5 separate regions of the Homo sapiens genome follow, and regions 1, 2, 3 and 4 are each linked to region 5. The links are contacts of gene promoters, found by promoter capture Hi-C in blood cells and fetal thymus (Javierre and others, 2016). All regions are on one chromosome and are shown on one strand. The core of a region is centred on a gene start or on the middle of the fragment in contact, and the rest is flanking DNA. Distances in the headings are between cores, read along the strand shown.

The links. Contacts are between HindIII fragments. The CHiCAGO score rates a contact against its expected background, and 5 or more counts as called.
Region 1: a fragment that was not itself captured here is called in contact with the fragment with the promoter of TCF7L2 in region 5 in 1 of 17 cell types (M2 macrophages); the score reaches 5.0 in M2 macrophages.
Region 2: a fragment that was not itself captured here is called in contact with the fragment with the promoter of TCF7L2 in region 5 in 1 of 17 cell types (M1 macrophages); the score reaches 6.5 in M1 macrophages.
Region 3: a contact is called between a fragment that was not itself captured here and the fragment with the promoter of TCF7L2 in region 5, in 2 of 17 cell types (M1 macrophages and M0 macrophages). The highest score is 7.9, in M1 macrophages.
Region 4: a fragment that was not itself captured here is called in contact with the fragment with the promoter of TCF7L2 in region 5 in 2 of 17 cell types (M1 macrophages and M0 macrophages); the score reaches 7.4 in M1 macrophages.

The regions. Positions count from the first base shown.
Region 1 is chr10:113,534,779-113,539,124 of GRCh38, reverse strand. No RefSeq gene overlaps it. Among named protein-coding and RNA genes, the nearest start is that of HABP2, 16 kb to the left of the region's middle. The HindIII fragment of the contact is 7,074 bases long and covers 1-4,346 here.
Region 2 is chr10:113,558,250-113,562,915 of GRCh38, reverse strand. The region is part of intron 1 of HABP2 (hyaluronan binding protein 2); the gene reads right to left. Among named protein-coding and RNA genes, the nearest start is that of HABP2, 7.5 kb to the right of the region's middle. RefSeq lists a silencer at 3,212-3,506 and an enhancer at 4,028-4,666. The HindIII fragment of the contact is 2,934 bases long and covers 478-3,411 here.
Region 3 is chr10:113,519,141-113,523,422 of GRCh38, reverse strand. No RefSeq gene overlaps it. Among named protein-coding and RNA genes, the nearest start is that of HABP2, 32 kb to the left of the region's middle. The HindIII fragment of the contact is 4,935 bases long and covers 285-4,282 here.
Region 4 is chr10:113,498,092-113,502,601 of GRCh38, reverse strand. No RefSeq gene overlaps it. Among named protein-coding and RNA genes, the nearest start is that of HABP2, 53 kb to the left of the region's middle. The HindIII fragment of the contact is 1,658 bases long and covers 1,684-3,341 here.
Region 5 is chr10:112,948,917-112,953,450 of GRCh38, reverse strand. It overlaps TCF7L2 (transcription factor 7 like 2), which reads right to left and starts at 3,204. Exons shown (of 15, transcript NM_001367943.1): 1 at 2,506-3,204; 2 at 2,178-2,244; 3 at 1,844-1,968. The coding sequence starts at 2,694. It overlaps LOC124902502 (a long non-coding RNA gene), which reads left to right and starts at 1,109. Exons shown (of 2, transcript XR_007062291.1): 1 at 1,109-1,673; 2 at 2,444-2,822. The HindIII fragment of the contact is 8,187 bases long and covers 1-4,534 here.

The DNA.
Region 1 (4,346 bases), core at 980-3,479, 590 kb before region 5:
GCCCTGCAGGAATGTGAGCCTCATGTGGCCAGACAGCTCATTTTTCTTTCTTTCTCTCTTTTTCTCTTCCTTCTTTCCTTTCTCTCTTTCTTTTCTTTCTTTCTTTCTATCTTTCTTTCTTTCCTTGTTTCTTTCTCTTTCTTTCTTTCTTTCTTTCTTTCTTTCTTTCTTTTCTTTCCTTCTTTCTTTCTTTCTCTTTCCTTCCTTCTTTCTCTCTTTTCTTTTCTTTTCTTTTCTTTTCTGGCAGAGCCTCACACTGTTGCCCAGGCTGGAGTGTGATGGTGTGATCTTGGCTCACCTCAACCTCTGCTTCCTGGGTTGAAGCAATTCTCTTGCCTCAGCCTTCTTGAGTAGCTGGGATTACAGGCACCTGCCACCATGCCGAGCTAATTTTTTGTATTTTTAGTAGAGATGGGGTTTCACTATGTTGGCCAGGCTGGTCTCAAACTCCTGACCTCAGGTGATCCACCCGCCTTGGCCTCCCAAAGTGCTGGGATTACAGGCATGAGCCACCGTGCCCGGCCTGACAATTCACTTTTCAAAAGAAGCCAGAAATTCAAAATGCTCCTGATACCCAAAAGTTGATAACAATTCATTGATGTTTAACCTGTGTGGGGCAACATGGTGTCTGTCACCTGAAGCACATCTGCAGGCCAGCTTCTGACCTGTGTTTTCTGCTCCCAGCTTTCTCTCTTCCTGGTTTCTGGATTCCAGGCTGATTCTCCCTTTGGACTGGGTAAGCCCCCAGGGTGATTACACAATTCAGGAGTGGGAGGCTTGAGGGGTGCAGAGTCTGGACTTCCCACTAGCAAGGGCCCCAGTGATTCATTATTAAAATAAGAGATGAGATCATCCTTCCTCTTCCCAACCCCTCTCCCCAAGCATCCCCCAAAGAAAAGGAAAAGAAAAAAGAAAAACGCTTTCTGGCATGCTTGCTCTTAACTTTTGGGGCCAAATGGTGACAGTCAGGGGTGCAGGTGCCAGGTAAGGATGACTGGGCTGCCATTCTCAAAACATGCTTAAGGCTTGCATGGCCTCGGATAAAGCAGTCCCTCTGACCCTTAGTTTCCTTACCATATAGGGTTTTGGTGAGCATCACATGGGGTAGACCATGCAATATGCTTTGCTGTTGTTTCTTGATGTGTTGTATTTATGAACATGCAACCTAGACTGCATGCCCCCAAAGTGAAGCATGCATATGCATGCATTACTTATTAAAAGTAATGCAAAAACCGCAATTACTTTTGCACCGTCCTAATAAATACCTGCCGACTTCCCCTTAGACCCTGGACTTTGGTGCTGAGGAAAAACAGGCCTGGGTGGGGGCTTGCTGCCTGGGTTGAGGGAGGGCAGGGACAGGACAGGCAGCCACAGTCCTCCCTCCTGGCCCTGCCCAGACTTACCTGGAGCCTTTGGGAGGGGTGACAGAAAGGGAGGGCAACAGTTTGGATTTCTTGTCGGCAACTAATTTATGCTGCATTTTAATCTGAACTGAATTAAATATTCTTCTTCCCCAAAGCTATCATCTATCCAACTCTCTACCAACTCTCTATCTATTGTAATTAATTCTTTTTACCTTTTGCTTTTGGGATTTTTTTTTTTTTTTGAGACGGAGTCTCACTCTGCTGCCCAGGCTGGAGTGCAATGGGGCAATCTCAGCTCTCTGCAACCTCTGCCTCCTGTGTTAAAGTGATTCTCCTGCATCAGCCTCCCAAGTAGCTGGGTGCTCACCACCACGCCCAGCTAATTCTTGTCATTTTAGTAGAGGCGGAGTTTCACCTTATTAGCCAGGCTGGTCTTGAACTCCTGACCTCAAGTGATCTGCCCACCTCAGCCTCCCAAAGTACTGGGATTATCGGTGTGAGCCACCACTCCTGGCCTTCTTTTTACCTTTTCTATGTTACTAGGCTGAGTGTCGCTGGGGAAGCAAGTCTAAGTGCTAAAGCCTATATATAAGAAAAATTCAAGTGGGAGCAGCTACCCTGGGGTATTTGTCTCAGAGTTTGCCCTCCTGAAGGAGCAGATCTGAGTTACTGAGAGTATAGTCACCTTCAGCCACTTCACAATGTGGCAACACCACAGTGTCATTTTTCTTTTTCAACTTTTATTTTAGATTCGGGTGTACATGTGCAGGTTTGTTACACGGGTATATTGTGTGATGCTGAGATTTGGGGTACAAATGATCCCGTCACCCAGGTACCAAGCATAGTACCCAACATGCAACCTAGACTGCATCCCCCCATTTTCAACCCTTGCTCCTCTCATTCCCTCCCACTTCTAGCAGTTCCCAGTGTCTATTGATCCTGTCTTTATGTCCATGAGTACCCATTGTTTAACTCTGAGACTGCAGTTTGACCAAAAGTCTCACTTGAGCTAACTTTCAGGGCCAAATGGGGTCAGTCAGGAGCGCAGGTGCTGGGTAAAACTGGCTGGACTGCCACTCTGGAAACGGGCTTAAAGGCTCATGTGGCCCCTGATAAAGGATAAAGCAGTCGCTCTGAGCCTTAGTTTCCCTACTTTACAGGGTTTTGGTGAAGATCATATAGGGTAGACCCCCCTCCCCCTCCCTTTTTTTTTGAGACAGAGTCTCGCTCTGTTGCCCAGGCTGGAGTGCAGTGGCATGATCTGTGCTCACTGCAAACTCCGCCTCCTGGGCTCAAGTAATTCTCCTGCCTCAGCCTCTCGAGTAGCTGGGTTTATAGGTGTGCACCACGATGCCTGGCTAATTTTTGTACTTTTAGAAGAGACAGGGTTTCACTGTGTTGGCCAGGCTGGTTTTGAACTCCTGACCCCAAATGATCCACCTGCCTCAGCTTCCCAAAGTGCTGGGATTACAGGTGTGAGCCACCATGCCTGGCCTTGATGTGTTATATCTATGAACGTGCAACCTAGACTGCATCCCCACAAAGTGAAACATGCACACTGTTACAGCAAACTAAATATGGCTTGAGAAGGACTCCGTACTTCTATATTTGAGTCCTTGCGGATGAACTGTAACCTAGTTTAATAGTCAGACAAAATTGAAAACCTAACTTAATCATATGCACCCCTAGCAATAGCTGAGTGTTGGCCAATCCCAACAGCCATACTTCAACCACTCATAGACTGCTGAGTGTTCAAACTGCGTTCAAATAAGGCAAACGCTGAGCTGTAACCAATCTTGCTATTTTGTAGCTCACTTCTGATTCCTGTATGTCACTTTACCTTTTTTGTCTATAAATTTATTCTGACTATGAGCCACCCCCGGAGCTTCTGTGAATCTGTGATTCTGGGGTCTGCCGATTCGCGATTCATTCATTGTTCAATTAAACTCCTTTAAATTTAATTCGGCTGAGGTTTATCTTTTATCAACATGCACGCACACTGTATGTGACGTCTGCTTGTTCCTGGATCCACTCCCCATTCCTGCCTGTTCCTCTGCTGCCTTACTTTGCACTGGAAGGAGCTATTAGGTTGGTGCAAAAGTAATTGTGGTTTTTGTCATTGAAAGTAATGGCAAAAGATTAGACTCTATACTCAAAGGAATATAAATCATTCTACTATAAAGACACATGCACATGTATGTTTATTGGAGCACTGTTTACAATAGCAAAGACTTGGAACCAACCCAAATGCCCATCAATGATAGACTGGATAAAGAAAATGTGGCACATATACACCATGGAATACTATGCAGCCATAAAAAAGAATGAGTTCAGATTCTTTGCAGGACATGGATGAAGCTGGAAGCCATCATTCTCAGCAAACTAACACAGGAACAGAAAGCCAAACACCACATATTTTCACTCATAATTGGGAGTTGAACAATAAGAATACATGGACACAGGGAGCGGATCATCACACACCAGGGCCTGTTGGTGAGTGAGGGACAAGGGGAGGGAGAGCATTAGGACAAATACCTAATGCATGTGGGGCTTAAAACCTAGATGACAGGTTGATAGGTGCAGTAAACCACCATGGCACGTGTAGCAGACCTGCACGTTCTACACCTGTATCCCAGAACTTAAAAAAAAAAAGATCAGGCTCTCTTTCTGGCTTCCAGATGGGTTTGGCCACTGAAGGGCGCTAATGAAAGACTGGTGGACAGAAGGAAGTGCAAAGTTAGGGGATCCTTCCCCTTCCCTTTGCTTCCTGTGGCATCTCTGGAAACTTCTATGTTTCCATGATCTCAGCTTCCCGAGAATCTGGTGGAATTTTACTGGTTGCTATGACAGGGAACTTCCTTGAATATGTCCACGTGCTAAGTGCTTCACATGCCTCTTAATATTTTTTAATCCCCTTAATAGCCCTATGAAGAAGATGCTACAATCCATATCCCCATTTTACAGATGGGGACACTGAGTCTC
Region 2 (4,666 bases), core at 695-3,194, 610 kb before region 5:
TCTTAGTCACCATTGTGAGGGACCAGGAAGCTGCCACGTGTACACAGTAATAAAGCAAGGATGGAGGAGAAAGAAACAGAAAAGCTCATTAACCTTGAGAGGCAGGTGTTGAGCTAGGTTCAAAATCAGGGGCACTGTTCTTGGAATGCTTTATAAAAAGGCTTATCTGTGGGCCGGGCGCAGTGGCTTACGCCTGTAATCCCAACACTTTGGGAGGCCGAGGTGGGCAGATCACTTGAGGCCAGGAGTTGGAGACCAGCTTGGCCAACATGGCAAAACCCCATCTCTACTAAAAATACAAAAATTAGCCAGGCGTGAGGGCAGGAGCCTGTAGTCCCAGCTACTCGGGTGGCTGAGGCACAAGAATCGCTTGAACCTGAGAAGTGGAGGCTGCAGTGAGCAGAGATCGTGCCACTGCACTCCAGCTTGGGTGAAAGAATGAGACTCTGTCTTAAAAAAAAAAAAAAAAAAAAAGCTTATCCAATCTGGCCTAGGCCTGGCAGGCCACAGAGAGGGCCTACTTGGCCCCAGTGACAGCTGGAGAAAGTACAAAAGTCAGATTGAGCCTTGGCCAGCCTACTGCGGTAAACACATCTTAACAAACATCTTCACTCAGATCAAAAGGCACGTAAGCCACTGCCCACTTCTCCCACCACATCCATTCCTAGTTTCAACAGGGCTAAAATAGCACATGGTCCCAGCTGACCCGTCTTCTCTTAAAGGGTGGACGCTGCTGCTTCTGCACATGGTAAGGTAGCTGCTTTGTAGTATATTTAGCAAGACCATTCTAGATCCAACGACTGTTTATTCTACTCCGCACTTGGGCTTTCTCAATGGATCCCTGGCTCAGGACACTGACTTCAAGGTTAGGAGCAGGCCCTTAGCAATGTTAAACTCCCTAAGCCACCAGAGTCTCAAAGTCTGGTGTCCTCCCAGGTTAAGGTTGGTTAGTGAGGAAGGCAGGGAGAAAAGGATCCCGAGTCTCTGAGTCTTACTGATTTACAGTGTAATCTCCTTGTGGGTGGGGTGCACATACATCAAGTCTATTTTGTCCTATATTTAATCCAGTGATTATTTCAACTAAGATTCTTCCTCTGCCTTCCAGAATTCCAAAACTTCTGGAAGACAAAACAAAAAGCCTAACAGTCTGAGTTGATGTGTTCCAGAAATTCGTTGGTAGAAAATGTTCTCAGAGGGATTAGGAGGCAGTGATGGGGGAGATAGGGCCAGATTTGTCTTTTGGGGACAGAGGCTCAGCTCCGAATGAACTAAGAGCAGAGAAATCTTCTGCTTGCTGGATAAAAGGTTGGGACTCTAATCACACCATCTCTTCTTCCTTGCATGTTCTACCCTATGCCTGGTGGTAGGCCACATGTTGCCAACCACCAGGGAGGTGCGTTACTCCCAAGGGCAGCTGGGGAGGAGAGACCTCTGTACCATGGCCATGGTTGAGGCTGCAACCTCTGGACTGGAAGGTGGACAGGGACAAGTGTGCACAGTTCAGCAGGGCCAGTCCCCTTGCTGGGCAAAGAGCTCAAGGCCAGAGCGAGTAGTGGAGGTGGCAGAGGGCAGTGGCTGCCAGTGCCCAGGCCAAATCCTCCCTCATGTTGTTCTTCTCTGGCTCCTGCTACAAAGATAAGCGATGTCATTTCAGCCTGAGTTGAAATCATCACTGGATTAAAGATAGGACAAAATAGACTAGACGTATACACTCCCCACCCCCAAGAAGATTACACTGTAAATCAGTAGGATTCAGAGACACGGGCTCCTTCTCTCTCTGCCCCTCCTTGACTTTCTGTCTAACCAACTTTATCCTAGAAGACACTAAGATGAGCAGTTGTGCCAAGCCACTCAGTCCTTTTATTTGAAAATTGTGGTAACATATACAGAACATCACATTTATCGTTTTGACCATTTGTAAGTGTACCTTTCAGTGATACTAATTACATTCACAATGCTGTGTACCCATCACCACTCTCTAATCCCCAAACTTTTTCGTCATCCCCAGCATGGACTGTACTCGTTGAACAGAAACGCCTCCTTCTTATTCTCCCTCAGCCCTGCTAATCTCTAGCCTACTTTCTGTCTCTGTGCATTTGGCAATTCTAAGTATCTCATGGAAGCGGAATCCTACAATATTTGTCCTTCTGGGACTGCCTTTATTTCACTGTGCATCGTGTTTCCAAGGTCTTCTAGGTAGCATGTATCAAACTTTCCTTCCTTTTTACAGCTAAATAGTATTCCATTGTCTCTATCTAATCACATGTTGTTTATGCATTCATCTCTTGATGGACATGGGTCATTTACACCTTTTGGCTATTGTGAATAATACTGCTATGAACATTGGTGTACAGATTTCTGTTCAAGTCTCTGCTTTCAGTTCTTTCAGATATGTACTTAGATGTGGAATTGCTGGGTCCTAGGGTAGTTCTACGATTAACTTTGTCAGGGACCGCCATACTGTTTTCCACAGTGGCTGCACCATTTTACATACCTACCAGCGAGGCCTGAGGGTTCCAATTACTCCACATTCTCACCCACACTTGTTATTCCCCATTCTCGAAAATGATAGCCATCCTAATAGGTATGAAGTGAGCCATCCTAATAGGTGTGAAGTGGTGCAACTCCATCCCTTCGTAGGCACAGGAATCTTGCCCTTCTGGCTTTTGCACACATTGCTCAATGCCGTCTCAAGACTGGCAGGTTCACTGCAGCTTTGCTTTCACCTGAAGCTCAGGGGAAGGGGGCAAAACTCTCAAGGGAGAATGTGGAAGCCAAAGGTGAAGGTGCTGGCCAGCAGTGCCTGTGGGTGGTTTCCTTCCTGGACACCTGGGTGAAGCTGTTCACCAGACCACAGTGATGAGCCAGGAGCCACTGTAGAGAGGAACTGGCTCAGACCCTTCATCTGCAGAGGAGGAAGATGAGGCCCAGCATGGTGAAGTGGCTTGTGTAAGGACATGGACACATTGGGGCAGGGGAGGGACTCAGGCTCAAGTCTCCTGGCTCTGACGCCGATCACCTATGCCTGGCTCAGAGGGATTCTGTGCAGCTTCCCTGCTCTAAAGCCCAGAGCTGGCCACTCAGACCCTACCCAGCTAAGGGCTGAGCTGCAGCTTCGTGTGACAGTGGCAGGCAGAGATGGGACAGGGGCAATGGGCAGAAAGAGAAGAGTCCCATTTGTTACATCCGGAGAATTTCCATTTTAAAGACATTGGTTCTTAAACCTCAATGTGCATAAGAATTGTCTGGGGAACTTGATAAAAATACAGATCCCTGGGGCCCACCCGCAGAGGTTTGGCGTCCATGGGTCTGAGGTGGGCTGGGAACACAACACACATCTTCCTCCAGTGCCCAGGCGACTCTGCCCTTGGCCACGCTTTGGTTATACCAAGCTCTCTTGGGTGTGAAGCTTCTGGCTGAGGAGACTCAGGGCCTATCTTTGCTCCTGTGCAATTTGTTGAGTCTCTCTGTGCCTCAGTTTCCCCAATTATAAAAGTAAGAATTCCCTTTCCCAATTCCAATGTTTTATTCAAGGAACTTTGGCTGCTCAGGAAGAATATGGCATTTGCAATGATTACTCCGCAGGTGAGACTTGGTGAGAAATATCTGTACAAATGGCTCATCCCAGGGACTTGGTGCAAACAGATGGTGGTGGAGGGGAGCTTTGAAGGTTAGGGAGTGAGGCCATCCAAGACAAGGAGACTGGGTAAAAATTCTGCATATGATAATGCTCTTGGAAGCCCTTTTAAAAGGCAAGCGAAGGCTGGGCACGGTGGCTCACGCCGGTAATCCCAGCACTTTGGGAGGCCAGGGCGGGTGGATCACTTAAGGTCAGGAGTTTGACACCAGCCTGGCCAGGATGGTGAAACCCTGTCTCTGCTAAGAATACAAAAATTAGCTGGGCGTGGTGGCAGTTGCCTGTAATCCCAGCTACTCAGGAGGCTGAGTCAGGAGAATCGCTTTAACCTGGCAGGCAGAGGTTGCATTGAGCCAAGATTGCGCCATTGCACTCCAGCCTGGGCAACAGAGCGAGACTCCGTCTAAGAAAAAAAAAAAATTAAGACAAGCAAGTGGACAAAACCAAAGCACAGCTGAGCGTGGGGCCGCCTCATAAGCACAAGCCCCCATGTTTCCCTTTTTGGTCAGTCAGCCCCAGCAAATAGCCCAGGGCTTCAGGAAGGTAACTCCCCCGCTAGGCATCAGCACCACCTCTGCTGAAGCTGTGCTCACTCCTGCGCTTTCCGTGGCATCAGATGTGAGCCACTGCGGGTATCTGAGTTGATTGAGATGGTGCCTAGCCAGGATGTGAAGTAACAGCATTAGAATAAAACAGAAAACACAGCGTGAGAAAGTCTTTCTTTTCTCAGGTTGACTGTCAAGCCTTCCAATCCCACCAGGGGGAAGGACTGGCGGGTGCTGGTGTCTCTATCCTCTGCCTCCTGCTGATCTTTCCTCTAAGGAGGATAAAGCCGCTTCAGGCTCAGACCTTTAGCATGTCAACAGCAGCCAGCTAGAATTCAATGACATCACTTCGCTTTCTTTGTAGTAATGACAATTTCCTTTAGAACTAAATCAATTTAGGTAGAGAAAAGGTGAGTCTTTAACAAAAGTATTAAGAAACTAATTTGGGCTTTGGCAGAATTTCTGAAGATGGCTTCATTCATGA
Region 3 (4,282 bases), core at 1,503-4,002, 570 kb before region 5:
AGCATGAACTATTTTTCTCTCTTTTCTTTCTAATATCTGTAGCTCTAGCTCTGGCTCCAGTCTCCCATTTACAGCTGCCCACAGGAAATTGCATAGATGTCCCAAAGGCTCTCCAAATCCACATGCCTGAAACAAAGCACATTCTCTCCTCGGTGCCCAACCACACTTCCTGGTGGAGGTGCTGTTATTCTCCCAGCCTGTGGAGGTCAAGGTCGGAGAAACCATTTGGATGGCACCACTTTCTTCATTCTTAATGTGCCAGGAGTCAGCGCGTCCACCAAGCTTTCCTTTCCAGCATCCCTCAGCAGCTTGTCCTGAGTTCCAGCCCTCCTACTCAGTCCCTTTGCAATCCACCTGGCACTGGCTGCCAGAGATATCTTGCCCCCATAGGACCGTTACCACGGTTTCTTGCCCAGCAGCCTTTGGCGATTCCCTGTTGCCTACTGCTTTAAGTCAGCCTGAAGTCAAGGGGCTCCATAACCCAGCCTGTCTTTAATTTCCTTCCTTTTCCTATCAGATCTCTCACTCATAATTCAACTTCCTTTACTGCCTCCAGCTAAAATGCTCTCCTCCTTCCTCTATACATCTTTAATCTACCCATGTGCCAAGAGCTGGAAAGGTAAATTAGATTGTATGCCATTTTCCCATTCTGCTTAACTGTTATAACTGCCTGGAGCTGTATTATGAGAATAATTCTGAAATTATATTCATGATCTATGTGAAAGAGATCTGTAATCGATTAGTGATGTCTGCCATGCGTAAGGCGGGAAAGAGCGAAGCAAACAGACTCTGGCTAGAGCCAACTGATAGCAGCCTGCCTCCTCCATGCAGCCTGGGACAATGGCAGCCCTATGGATCACCTTGCCCATGACCAATTTATCATATTAATAATAAACACAGGATTGCAATGGGCTCTGAGAAGAAAAATACCTGAGATATCTGCCTTTAAAAAAGCCATGGTGGTGCTGGGCTCGGTGGTTTATGCCTGTAATTCTAGCACTTTGGGAGGCTGAGGCAGGTGGATCGCTTGAGGCCAGGAGTTCAAAACCAGCCTGGTCAACATGGCAAAACCCTGGCTCTACTAAAAATACAAAAATCAGCTGGGCATGATGGCACATGCCTGTAGTCCCAGCTACTTGAGAGGCTGAGACAGGAGAATTGCTTGAACCCAGGAGGTGGAGGCTGTAGTGAGCCGAGATCGCACCACTGCACTCCAGCCTGGGTGACAGAGCAAAACGCTGTCTCAAAACAAAACGAAACAAAACAAAACAAAAAACGAAAAACAAACAAACAAAAAAACAAACCATGTTGAAGAGTCTATTTACCCAGGTTTTTATCACATCTCACCCGGTTCTCTCTCTGCATCAGACAATTAAAAACCTTACTTGTAACAATAATGGCTAGCTTTTATGAGAACTTACTCTGTGCTGGCACCATGCTAAGGCTTGACACATGTCATCTCAGTTAATCATTATAGTTTTGCGAAGGAGGAAGGGGGTACACCTAAAAGGCCATCTTGCAGATGAGGAAACGACATTCAGAGCAACGAAGTGACTCCTTCGAGGTCACCTAGGCAATCAGTGGTGGGGCCAGGATACACATCCAGGGCCATTTGATTCCAAACCTTGGCTACTAGATGAATGGGTATTTTTGTTTATTAGTGTATGGTATTGTTCACTTTTGATGAAGGTGTTAGAAATAGACAGCAAAGTCTCTGAGTGCATAAATTTGTCACACACTTTGTTATATTTTTCCCTTCCACACCCAAGTACCTAACACAGGCCTAAGTCAGAGTTGATGGAGTCTCTAATGCTCTTTTTGCGGCTGCTCAGGCCCTATCAATTGCTGCTTATTATTTATTTTAACATATTTTCAAGGCCCGAGAAGGAGGATCACATTACATACAGTCTATGGGGAACTGGGCTCAAAATGACTCAGGGATCCCAAAAAGATTGTGCTCCAACAGGTAAAAATATCCCCCTGTGGCCTCATTGAAATTGCCAGCTTTTCCAGATGCAGCAGCAACTTTTGGCCACAAGAGGACAGTAAAGACAAGGCTACCAGGACCAAGTCCGACCAGCCTCTCCATCCAGGCTTCACAAGCGAGCAGAGACCTTGGCAGCAATTACTGTTTCTTTTATTATGACCACTGTCATACAATCTTCAGATGAAATGCACTTCAACAGGCTGATGCAAAGATCTAATGACTTCCCTGCAACTTCCAGCATAAACGAAGCTAAAATGGCCATTTATGCATGCATGCATTTGTTCCACCTGCATTTATTGAGCACCTACTGTATTACAAGCACTGTACTATCTAGGGGAGATGATGGGCAAGTACACTGAGAGACCTAGTACAGGTTTCCAAGAGGCATCGGAAGCACCAGAGGAGGCACTGTGCTCTAAGAGAGTCAGGAGGGCATCTCTGAGGAGGTGACATTTGCACAGGGTCTTGGAGAAGGTCTGGGAGCTCACTAAATAGAGATGGCAGGGGCCAGTGCGGGGGCTGGGGCAGGAATCCCAGACAAAGGGAGGAGGGAATGGCAGCCAGAGACATCACTGGAGCGGATATGAATCTTTGTACTGCTTGCTGTGGGCTGGAATTTGAAATTTGATGGCTATTTTTGGAATGAGATTCCTGAAACGCTCCCCTGTCTTCTTCGGTCAGGTTTATAACCATCCATGGGAGTGGAGCTCTAGGCTCTGACTAAAAGGGAGCAATGGGGACCTCCTTTTCTAGAAAGTTCTTGTGATGATAGCCTTCCTGAGCAGATTTGTGGGAGTTTCCAGCCAGACCATTCAGGATCTTCCTCTGGAGCAAGCCCAAAGGGGCCTGTGCAAGGCTGGGTAGGAACATGAGGGGCCCTCCCAGCCCCCTCCTGCACTGGGCTGGAGGCGGGCTGAGGGCCCAGCTCTGTCTTCAGAAAAGCAGCCACAGTCCCCGAGCAGGTGGGTTTCCAGCCCTGCTTTTTCTCCCTGAGCTCTTTTCCCCAAATGGCCCTTTCCCCTTTTCTGCTGCTTAAGCCTTGCCCAGATTCTATGGCAAACAACAGCTATCCTGCCAGTTGACCTGAGTCACTGGGTATAGGAAGGGGCCAGAGCTCACATGGCCATTCAAATCTAGGCTTTGTCTGCATCTTGGCTCTGTGAACTTGGACTTGACATTTAACCTCTCTGGGTCTCTGTTGGCTTGTGGTGAGGTTGACAGAATACAGAGGTAACTGTCTGTATACTTGGGTCCCAAGTGAGGGCCTAAGTTATGGACTCCAACTTGCATGAGTGTCTTGGGGGCACATTAGGTATGTCGGGGCGCTGGGAGCACCTGGGCAAAGGGCTACAACTTAACCTCCCAAGGACCCCATGGGGGAAGTTGAGTGCCCTCCATCCCTCAGTAGGAAATCCCAGTGTGTGAACAACACCTAGACACTATTGGGCAAGGCTGTCACTGCTGTTTCCTCTGGTGCTGCCCCTTAACCCACAAAAGCTGGGAGTTGAGAGGCCTGAAATGAACGAAGGAGGAAGTGCCATGCGGGAGCCGGCCCCTGGGGGCGTTAAAGGTACCCTCACGGCCCCTCTCAGCCACCTCTTCACAGAAGGGACCATTCTCAAAGGGAGCCAGAGCCTGGGCATGCTGGGCCGGTAGAGGGTTTGCCCGGATCGCAGTCAGGGCTGCACCTCCGGCCAGGAGGCTGAGAGGGAGGACATCCACCCAGCAACTGGGGAGCAAAGTGGACAGGGGTGGCCGAGCCCCAGGAGGGGAGAGTGTCAGAGATGTGTGACAACTGAGAGAAGGCCCTGCTGGGTCCATTCATCCTCATCATCTTCTTCATCATCATCATCATCCTCAGGATAAGATATAAGAACAACAATAAAATAGTAACTTCGATTAACAAGCACCTACCATGCCCCGGACATTTTCCACACACAAAATCTTCACAGCAGTACTTCCAGGTAGGTGGCGTCATTGTTCCCATCTTACAGATGAAAACACCGAGGCTCAGAGAGTCTAGGCAACTTGCCAGCTTGCTTTTAGCAGCAAGAATCAGGATTCAAACCCGGACGTACCAAACTTCAATCTTTGGCCTCTTTCCAGTTCCACACTGCCTCCCTGAAAGAATTAGTCACTCTTGATCCAAAAGATTCCCATTATTTTTTTCTTTGATAATGTGGTTACTCTGAGTTAAAGTGACTCTAACTCAGAGGCAGATTCTGAAAACTAACAGATGCTTAAGAGCTAAGCAGTGACAAAAACAGAATCTTGTGTGCAGGAAACAGAGACCAG
Region 4 (4,510 bases), core at 1,263-3,762, 550 kb before region 5:
GAGTGTTTGAGTTCACCAAAGTAGTCAATAATTTAGAGACTTGCTTTTGAAATATAGGACAAAAGGCAAGCAAAGCCAATCTATCTCAGTAATGACAGCTGAAAAGTCAAAATGTATCAGTCATTATCTCAATCATCTCCTGCATAATCTATGCTTTACCTTTCTTTGTTTGCCTTGTACCTTCCAGTTACTCCAGTTAGTCTTAGGTAATGCCTTTTTCTTTATCTAACATTGGTAACTGTATCAAAAGTGCATTTGACAGAGATACCTTTGGTACCTGTCCCTTTCAAGGCTAGTCACTTGGAAGAAAAGGGTGGAGAGATGTATAGTGAAATCTTGGACAGTCTTGACCACTAGAAAGCTCTTAATGAGTGCATTAGTCAGCTATTACTGCAACAATGCTGAGTAACAAACAATACAAAATCTCAACAACAAATGTGCTTTTTTCACTCATGGTTTTGTGGGTTGGCTGGGGCAGTTCTGCTTCAAGCTGTGCACTAGATTCAGGTCTCCTCTTTGGGGCTTTCATTCTTGATTTGATGGCTCTTCAGGCTCTTCTCATGTTGGGTGTTAGAACCTCAAGAAGGGAAGGTAGAAAAAAAAATTGCTTCTTCTGAAGGCCTAGGGTCAGAGCTGGCACACTGTCACTTCTGTCCCTATTATATGGCCAAAGCAAGTCCCACAGCCAAGTATAACATCAATGGTATGGGAACTCATAGTGAACAATGAAAGAGCAGGAGGAGAGAAAGTATTGTGAGTAACACAATCTATCCCAGTGAGCCTGAGTTGGAAGCCCAGAGTGTGGCTGGGGGGTACTGCTACTATTCACTGCAAAGGGGAAGACAGGAACTGAGGCTGCCTATTTTAGTCTATTTCTGTTGAACAACATAACAATATCCCTTTTCCTTCTCTGACAACTTAGACTAGTAGAATCTAGTGAAATGATCGATATTCTGGCAAAAAGTCTGGATACCACTTTCTGCTAAAATAGATCAAAAGTGAGAAGGACCCACACAAGGCAACTTTGAAGGTTCTACTCAGCCAGCTGCTAGAGGGCAAGGTCTCTGTCATCCACATCTACTTTTAGTTTATAATCACATCCTTTCAGTACGATACGTGGGCCATATTCGTGTTTCAGTTATAGCAAAGAAAGGGCTGGTCCCCTTAAATATCCCCCAAGAGCACATGTCTTCAGAAGCTGCCTTAGAATGTGGTCTGAGAAGAGTTCCAGCTAAACTGGTATGTGTGGGGATTTTTGTTCAAATTCAGTTAAATAAACTTTTTTTTTTTTTTTGAGACAGAGTTTCACTCTTGTTGCCCAGGCAGGAGTGCAATGGAGCGGTCTTGGCTCACTGCAACCTCCGCCTCATGGGTTCAAGCAATTCTGCCTCAACCTTCCGAGTACCTGGGATTATAAGTGCCTGCCACCACGCCTGGCTAATTTTTGTATTTTTTAGTAGAGATGGGGTTTCACCATGTCGGCCAGGCTGGTCATGAACTCCTGACCTCAGGTGATCTGCCTGCCTCAGCCTCCCAAAGTGCTGGGATTACAGAAGTGAGCCACCACGCCTGGCCCAAACTTTTTTTTTTTTTTTTTTTTTTGACACCAGCTACAGACCAAGCACTGTGCTGAGTTCTGGTACTGTTGCATGAACAAAACAAAGTCTTCTCTCTCATGAAGCTTCATTTAGTGGAGAAGGTAGACAATAAACACATAAACAAGTGAACAGAATGGGAACAGAATGTTTACATAGTGATAAACACTTTGCAGAAAAATCTCTAGGGGGTCGGGAGGAGGGAGTGAGGCCTTGGGGAGAGGAGGCTGTTGCATTTTGTACAGGATGCTCAGGGACAGCTTGACAATGAACATGCCTTTGAGCAGAGACCTGAAGGAAGTGAGTGGGGAGCTATGAAGCTCTCTGGGGGATGAGTGTTCCAGGTAGTGAGAAGAGTAAGTGGGAAGGTCTTGGGGCAGGAGCAAGGCTTGTGTGCAGAACAGCAAGAAGGCCAGTGGCTGGATCAGAGTGAACAGATGGTAGAACCGTAGGAATCAAGGCCAGTGAAGTGGCAGGGTTGGACCAAATGAGGCCTGTGGACAAGTCTAAGAACATTGAACTTGGGCTCCTGGACTCACTGGCTCAGCGATTGAACCAAATGAACTTGTCTGCCACAAAATTGTTTTCTTCCTGGATGTAAAACATCTAGGTGTGCAGAGAGTCTATTGGAGATTAGGCCTGGGGGTGTCCTGGTCCATGTGGCCAGATGCTCCAATGAGCAGCGCGGTACTAAGCTACCACAGCCCTGCCTAATTGGGTCATTCCAAAATCATGAAGAAGCAAGCCAGCTGCTGGAAAGAAATCAATGGAAAGTCCACACAGGTGTGTGGAACACTGGCATCAGCTCTCCTCTGGAAATAGCAAGTCTCAATTCTCCCTTAGCTGTATGGCTTCCTTCTGCTCCCTATGCTCAGAACCCCTCCTTCCAGGAAGTTCCTTCTGGAACTCATGTGGCCTTCGTTGCCTCTCTGTGCACAAGCTCCCTCTTCTGCGTGCTCTCCTACAGTCATCCTGGCCTTGCTGAACACTCGTGGTTGATAAATTCTAGGGGGAAGAGCTACAGGCTAAAGATCAGCCTCACGGTCTGGGGCATAGCTGCTCATGAATCATTCAGAAGGAAGAAAAGCCTTACTAAGGGCCTTTGTATCTGGGCGTAGGTTGGGGCTATTTCTTGGCTTCAATGTACATATTTAGGGTCTAGAAAGAAGGGCTGTATTTGGCTTTCACACTTGAGAATTCCCTTTATTGGGAGTCACTGTGTCATCAGAACATTCTTAGTATCCATCCAGGACGAGATGATGACTGCTCTCAACTGAGTCCACGGCAGTCCACACAGGGTTAATCCAAATTTGCCTCTTCTCTCCTCATCGGTAAAAAGCTGGAAGCATTTCTGTTTCATTTCTCTTTCCTCTGTTTAACCGTTTTCTTAAGTTGCTCATTTTTCAAGAAGTAATTCTTTTGTCCTTTTAGAAAGATTAAGTCGTTTTCGTCTCATTGTATTTACCAAAATCCTTATCACCAAGGGCTTTGTAAGTGAGGCCTGCTATACCTTAGCTTCCAGGTATAATTAGTGCCCATTATAATCATCCAACTGACCAATCATGGGAGGCTCCCAAGAGGACCAGGACTGGGAGAGAGACTATTAACAAAATCATACTTCATAGAGTCTTATCTTGCCAGGGGTAAAAAAAAGCCATCCGTCTGGCATTGCACAATCCAGCACTATACAGGTACTCCAGCCCTCCTTGAGGTGCAACTCTCACCAAAGGGTGCAGCAAACAAGCTTCAAAAGGAAAAAAACCACACACAGGAAATGCCTGCACTGCAACGTTTATGAACATTGCCAAAGAGAAGTTGCCAAGTGCTGTAAGTGGACAAATGCACCTCCCAGAACAGAAAACAGAAAAGGATGGAAAGAGGAAGAAGGACCGGCTCTTTTGCATCTCTTTGCCATTGCAGCTGTGAACAGAGGCGGCTGTTTTTCCCTCTCCTAAAGGTTTTCCTTAAAACTGCCACAAAAAAAGCATTGCCAGCAAGTTAATGAGTCCCATCCCATCCGTTTCTCCTATCCCCTCCCAAAGAGGCATAACAGGCCTGTTTACATAGGTCGGCATCTGAAGGTAATTAAAAATGTAATCCTATATTTGCAGCAGGCTCTCTCTCATCTAGAGCAAATTCCCACCACCCAATAATGCTCCTGCTCTACCTCTGTGGTGCACTTTAAGCTTCTTTTTTTCCCTCCCCTCACTTATGCATTGGGTTTAGATCCTCATGGCAATCTGCCCCAACTGGGTGTGGAGAAAAGAAATCAGTTTCCCCATTGAACAGATGAGGAAACTGAGGTGCAGACAGATTCCATGCCACACCCAAGTTCAACAGCTCTCTTTGTTCCAGTGAAGCCATGTTTTTGTTGTTGTCGTTGTTTTGCTTTGTTTTTTGGTTTCTGTGAAGATTTATTTCTACTGTATCATGAAGATGGTAAGAAATGGTTTATTCCGGTGCATCAATGGCTTTGGTCAACTCAGTTTCCATACGTGCCATCCTAGGTGGCAAAATGTTCAAAAAATAAATTGAGGCCGGGCGCGGTGGCTCACGCCTGTAATCCCAGCTCTTTGGGAGGCCGAGGCGGGTGGATCATGAGGTCAGGAGATCGAGACCATCCTGGCTAACAAGGTGAAACCCCGTCTCTACTAAAAATACAAAAAATTAGCCGGGCGCAGTGGCGGGCGCCTGTAGTCCCAGCTACTCGGGAGGCTGAGGCAGGAGAATGGCGTGAACCCGGGAAGCGGAGCTTGCAGTGAGCCGAGATTGCGCCACTGCAGTCCGCAGTCCGGCCTGGGCGACAGAGCGAGACTCCGTCTCAAAAAAAAAAAAAAATAAAAAATAAAAAATAAATAAATAAATAAATTGAATGGAAAATATCACTGAATAGGATTTTATATAGAATTTTATGC
Region 5 (4,534 bases), core at 1,955-4,454:
CGATTCTGAGCCGAACGGTCCCGTTTAAGATGCCCCACAAGCTCCCAAGAAAAATACAAAGTAAGCGAACTGTGCTTCCCCTACAGCTGCAAGCCCAGAGCGCGGCCCCTGCAGCCTGGTGGAACTGGCCCTGGAGAAGGGGGTTGAGCCGAACCGCTCTCCCAGCTTCCCAAGCATGTCTGGGCGCCGGGCAGGGGGGGAATAATTATTTCTCTTCCCTAGCCATAAAAAAAATGACCGGTCTAGCATGCCCTTGCCATTTTGCCAGGGCCCAAAAAAGCAAGTCAAACCTGATAGTTAATATTTTAATGCTTAAAAACACTTGTAGATCTGATCGACTCCCGTCCGGCAAGCCCTCGGCCATTAGCACCGAATCCATGGCTGCTGAACAGTGGGTGCATTATTTCAAATTGCTATCTAGAGTTACCGAAAAAGAAAAAACAAAAGTCGTGTGTGTAAATAAGGGGTAGGGGACCAAACTGGAGAAGGTGTAAAATGACAATACCGGGAAGCCGGGCACAAATGCGTCTTGCGTCCAGGGATTCGTAATCCAGGCTTCTTAGAAGAGGGAGGGAGGGATGAGGAGGAGGGGGTTCAGGGTGAGGGCAGGGGGCACAGGCCGGTGGGGGAGGGGATGAGCCGTATTAACAAATGTCAGGGTTGGGCGCGGGACCGACCCTGCAGGAAGCGCCCCCCGAGCCCGGCACCCCGCGCTGCCCTGGGGCCCCCAAAGTTGGGTGGCCGGCGATCGGCGGCCCACTCCCTTGAAGGAGAGGCGCCCCAGCCTCCCTCGGCCCCCGCACCTCCTTGAGCCCGCACACCCTGGTCTCTGGCCCCCCTGGGGCCCACGACGGGCCTACACGGAAGCTGGCGAGCGCCGACCCCGCCATACATCCCAAGGCGCCAAAATTCCCTAGAAATACACAAGTCCGCTTGGAGGAGTCCATTCCGGCTGCACACAAACCAAGAATCCGGGCCGCAGGGGCCTCCCCGCCCCACTCAGCCCTGCTGCCCTGCGCGGCCCGGGAGAGCCCGCAGCCAGTGCGCCGGGCAGCGGAGCCCGCCACGGCGCCCAGGGCGCTCGCGGCCCTGCGGGTTGCCAAAGAAAAGGACGCCTCAGAGCCCCCAAGTTTGCGGTGGGACCAATCTGGGAAGTGTGACCTTCCAGGGGAAGGGGGAAGGAGGGCCGAGAGCCAGCAATCTCCACTAGAAAGCTAAATACATAGTCGCCCAAAAGAGAAAGCCAAGGAGCCTCTCCAGGGCCCCGGGCTCTGCGCGCTAGCCAGTTCTCAAGTCCAATGCCTGGAGGAAACCCACTCTCTACCCCGCGCATCGGGCGCAGCACAGTCAGTCACTCGTGGCCCGCAGCGGCAGCCAAGGGGTTAACCGGGGAAAGCCCAAGACGCCACAGAAGAGGGAAGGAAGAGAAGGAGAGAGAGGGAGAGAGAGCAAAGGAAGAGCCACAGAGTCATCTTCCCAGGGTGAAGAAACAAACACCACCACCAAAGGGGGAGGGGGAACCAGAACGCAAAGGAAAGTTCTTCGGATTCCCCCCCCTCCCCACCAACAAAGCCCTGCTTGGACAGAGAGGTCTCCCCAACATCACGAGGCAGCAAACTGAAAGCAAGAACGTGGCGAAGTGCAAACAAATCCAGTCCACAAAAGGCAGAAAAGTTTGGAGAGTTTCGGGCCTCCTGGGCCACGAGCGGGGGAGGGGAGGGAGGGAGGGGAGGAGGCGGGGAGGGGGAGGCGGGGAGGGGGCAGGGCAGGGGCCGCATGCGGGGCCCGGCGGGCGGCGCGGGCGGGCGGGCAGCGGGCGGGGGCCGGGCGCGGAGGCACTTACGGTTCGGGCGGTGGGCGAGAGCGATCCGTTGGGGAGGTAGGGGCTCGTCAGGTCGGGGATCATGATGAAGGGGTAGCCGGGATACGGTGGCCCCTTAAAGAGCCCTCCATCTTGCCTCTTGGCCGCTAACATGGCGGGGCGGCGAGGGGACAGCGGCGGCCGCGCGGAGCGGGAGAGAGTGAGGAGAAACTTTTTAGAAAGTGCCCCGAGGGGCCGGGCGCCCCGACCGGGCCGGCGCAGGGCCAGGCCGAGCCGGGCGCGGGGCCGGGGCGCGCGGGGCGGCCGGCCCGGGGGGCGGCTCCGGGCGGCTGCGGGGCGCGCGGGGCGTACTCACCTTCTTCCAAACTTTCCCGGGATTTGTCTCGGAAACTTTCGGAGCGAGGCGGAGGCCGTCTTTCCGCCTTCCCAGAGGGGTGGAGGTGGGGAGGGCGAGGGGCAAACGCCACGCAGAAGGGGGAGAAGGGGGAGAAAAAGAATCGGCGAGGTCGAGGGGGGGGTAGAAAAAAACAGGGTTACAAGTTTTTGCAATGGTGGCACCGTACGCACACGCCGCCCGCCGGGCCCCGCCGCCGCCCCCAGCCCCGATTTCTCCCCTTTCAGCAACATTTGCCAAGCCCAGGAAACAGATAAAAAACCCCACCAGCCCGAGGGGCTTTTCCTACCTCGGAATCGGAGGAGCTGTTTTGATTCGTTTCTGATTCATTGACTAGAGACGATTTGACATCAGCTAAATCCCTCTCTGCCGAGGAGTTTTCGGAGCTCTTCTCCTCCTGTTCGCCCTCGTCTTTGAAGGAAATCAGTTCGTCGTTGGCGCCTAGGTCATCCCCTCCACCGCCGTTCAGCTGCGGCATTTTTTTTTCACCCACCAGCAGCAATTTTGGAAGAAAAATGAAGGAGGAAGAAAAGCCAAAAAAAATCACCCCCAAAAAGTTTTGCCCCCCCAAAAAATATTGCAAGAAAAAGACGAGTCCAAGGTGAACTTTTTTCTGCTTGGGGGTCTTTTTCTCCTGGGGAGGGGAAAAGAGGGAGGAGGGGAGGGGAAGGGGGGGGAGATCTTCTGCACGCGTGAGTTTGGGTTTCTTTTTTCTCTCGTTCCCAAGGATCCGATCAATGTGCAAAAAAATAATAAATAAAAAAGGGGGGTAAAAAAAAAAAAAACACCAACAACAACAAGAAGTCAGATATAAAGAGCAAAGGGGGGGGGAAGCCGAAGATACAGGAGGTGCTCGTGCCGCTCGGATTTGAGTGAGTTGAAGTTAGACTGAGAGCTTTTCAGTTCAAAGGCGGCGCTGATTGACAGATAGAAAAAGGGGGATCGAAATCCGGAGGAACGGAGTAGTCTGGGAGCGGAGATTATTGACAGGGCGAGAGGAACACACTGCCTTAATGAGATGCCGGAGGGCGGGGCCGGCCCAGTGACGTGTGCATAAATAAACAGCCGGGGTGGGCGGGGCGGGGGCGGCTAACAATGATCCTTTCGGGCGCCGGGAGAGGGAGGAGGGAAAGAAGGAGGAAGAGAGGGGCGGGGAAGCCGGGGGGAGACGGAGGGAGGAGTGTGCAGGGGGAGCGGCCTGCGCGGAGTGTGTGCGAGCCCGGGATTCTGGGCGAGGGTGCAGGGACTTGCTCCGGGAGGGGGCGGTTTCAGAAAGACAATGCGGGGTGGGAGAGGAGGAGAAGGGGGTGGCGACCAAGTCAGGAATCCGAGCCGAGGAAGGCGGAAGGAAAGCCCACTTGGGGGGCGGGGATGGGGAGAGGCCCAAAACAGTGCACTTTAGAAATATTAGAAATAAGTCTTAAGGGAGGGGGAAAAGGAAGGGTAGTATTTGAGAAAGTGGTGGCTGGGGGAGGGGGTGGGGGGGTGCTTGGTGGTTAATTCAGCAGTGAAATCAGCCACCCTTAGACGGGATGCGACAAAAGTGGTCAAAAGGAAAGATCAACCCTCCACTTTCAGAGAGCTTGGGGAAGTGAAGGGGCTGGTCAAAGTTCCTGGTCATCTACAATGAAAGAAACTATTAACCCATGAGGCCTCCCTCCTCCCTTTTTTGTTTATTAGTAGTGAATCATTTCATGAAATGTTAAGTCCCACTAGGATGGATATGCCAAAACGACTTTTTATGCAAAAAACAAATGCTAAATGTCAGAAACATTAAAAGTATCCTTAAGGAAAAATATATGATTCTTTTAAATGTAGAGTGGTGTTTTGCTTTTTTTTTTTTTTTTTTAACTGACGTTGGAGGTAGTAGGAAATGAGCTAGAGTCAAAGTCCTTTTTGACTTAGGAGGTGAAAAGTTTGGGCGTTAACACCGTCAGGGAAAATAAAACTGAAAGTTCACCAACCCCTGGGATCAGTTGGGCTACAGTGTTTCTCGAAGGGGGTCTGAAATGAAATCCCCGAAAGACTGACCAAAATAATCAAGATGTAGGTGGCTCTGGCAGGAAATTGCTAACCAAACCGATGCTAGAAGACCTTCGGGAGAAGATGGGAAACCTGGGGCTTGAGGCAGGTATTTGTTGACTTTTAGGTATTAGAGGAGGAGCAGACTGATTTGCTACAAAATGGGGAATGGAATTATGTTAAAGAGGAAAGACCCAGCTCCCAAAACACAATGTTCCTGGGTGATAGAGCAAGAAAATTCATTTTTGCAAATACCCAGTAAGAAGTAGACTGGACACTACAACATGAAAAAGAGA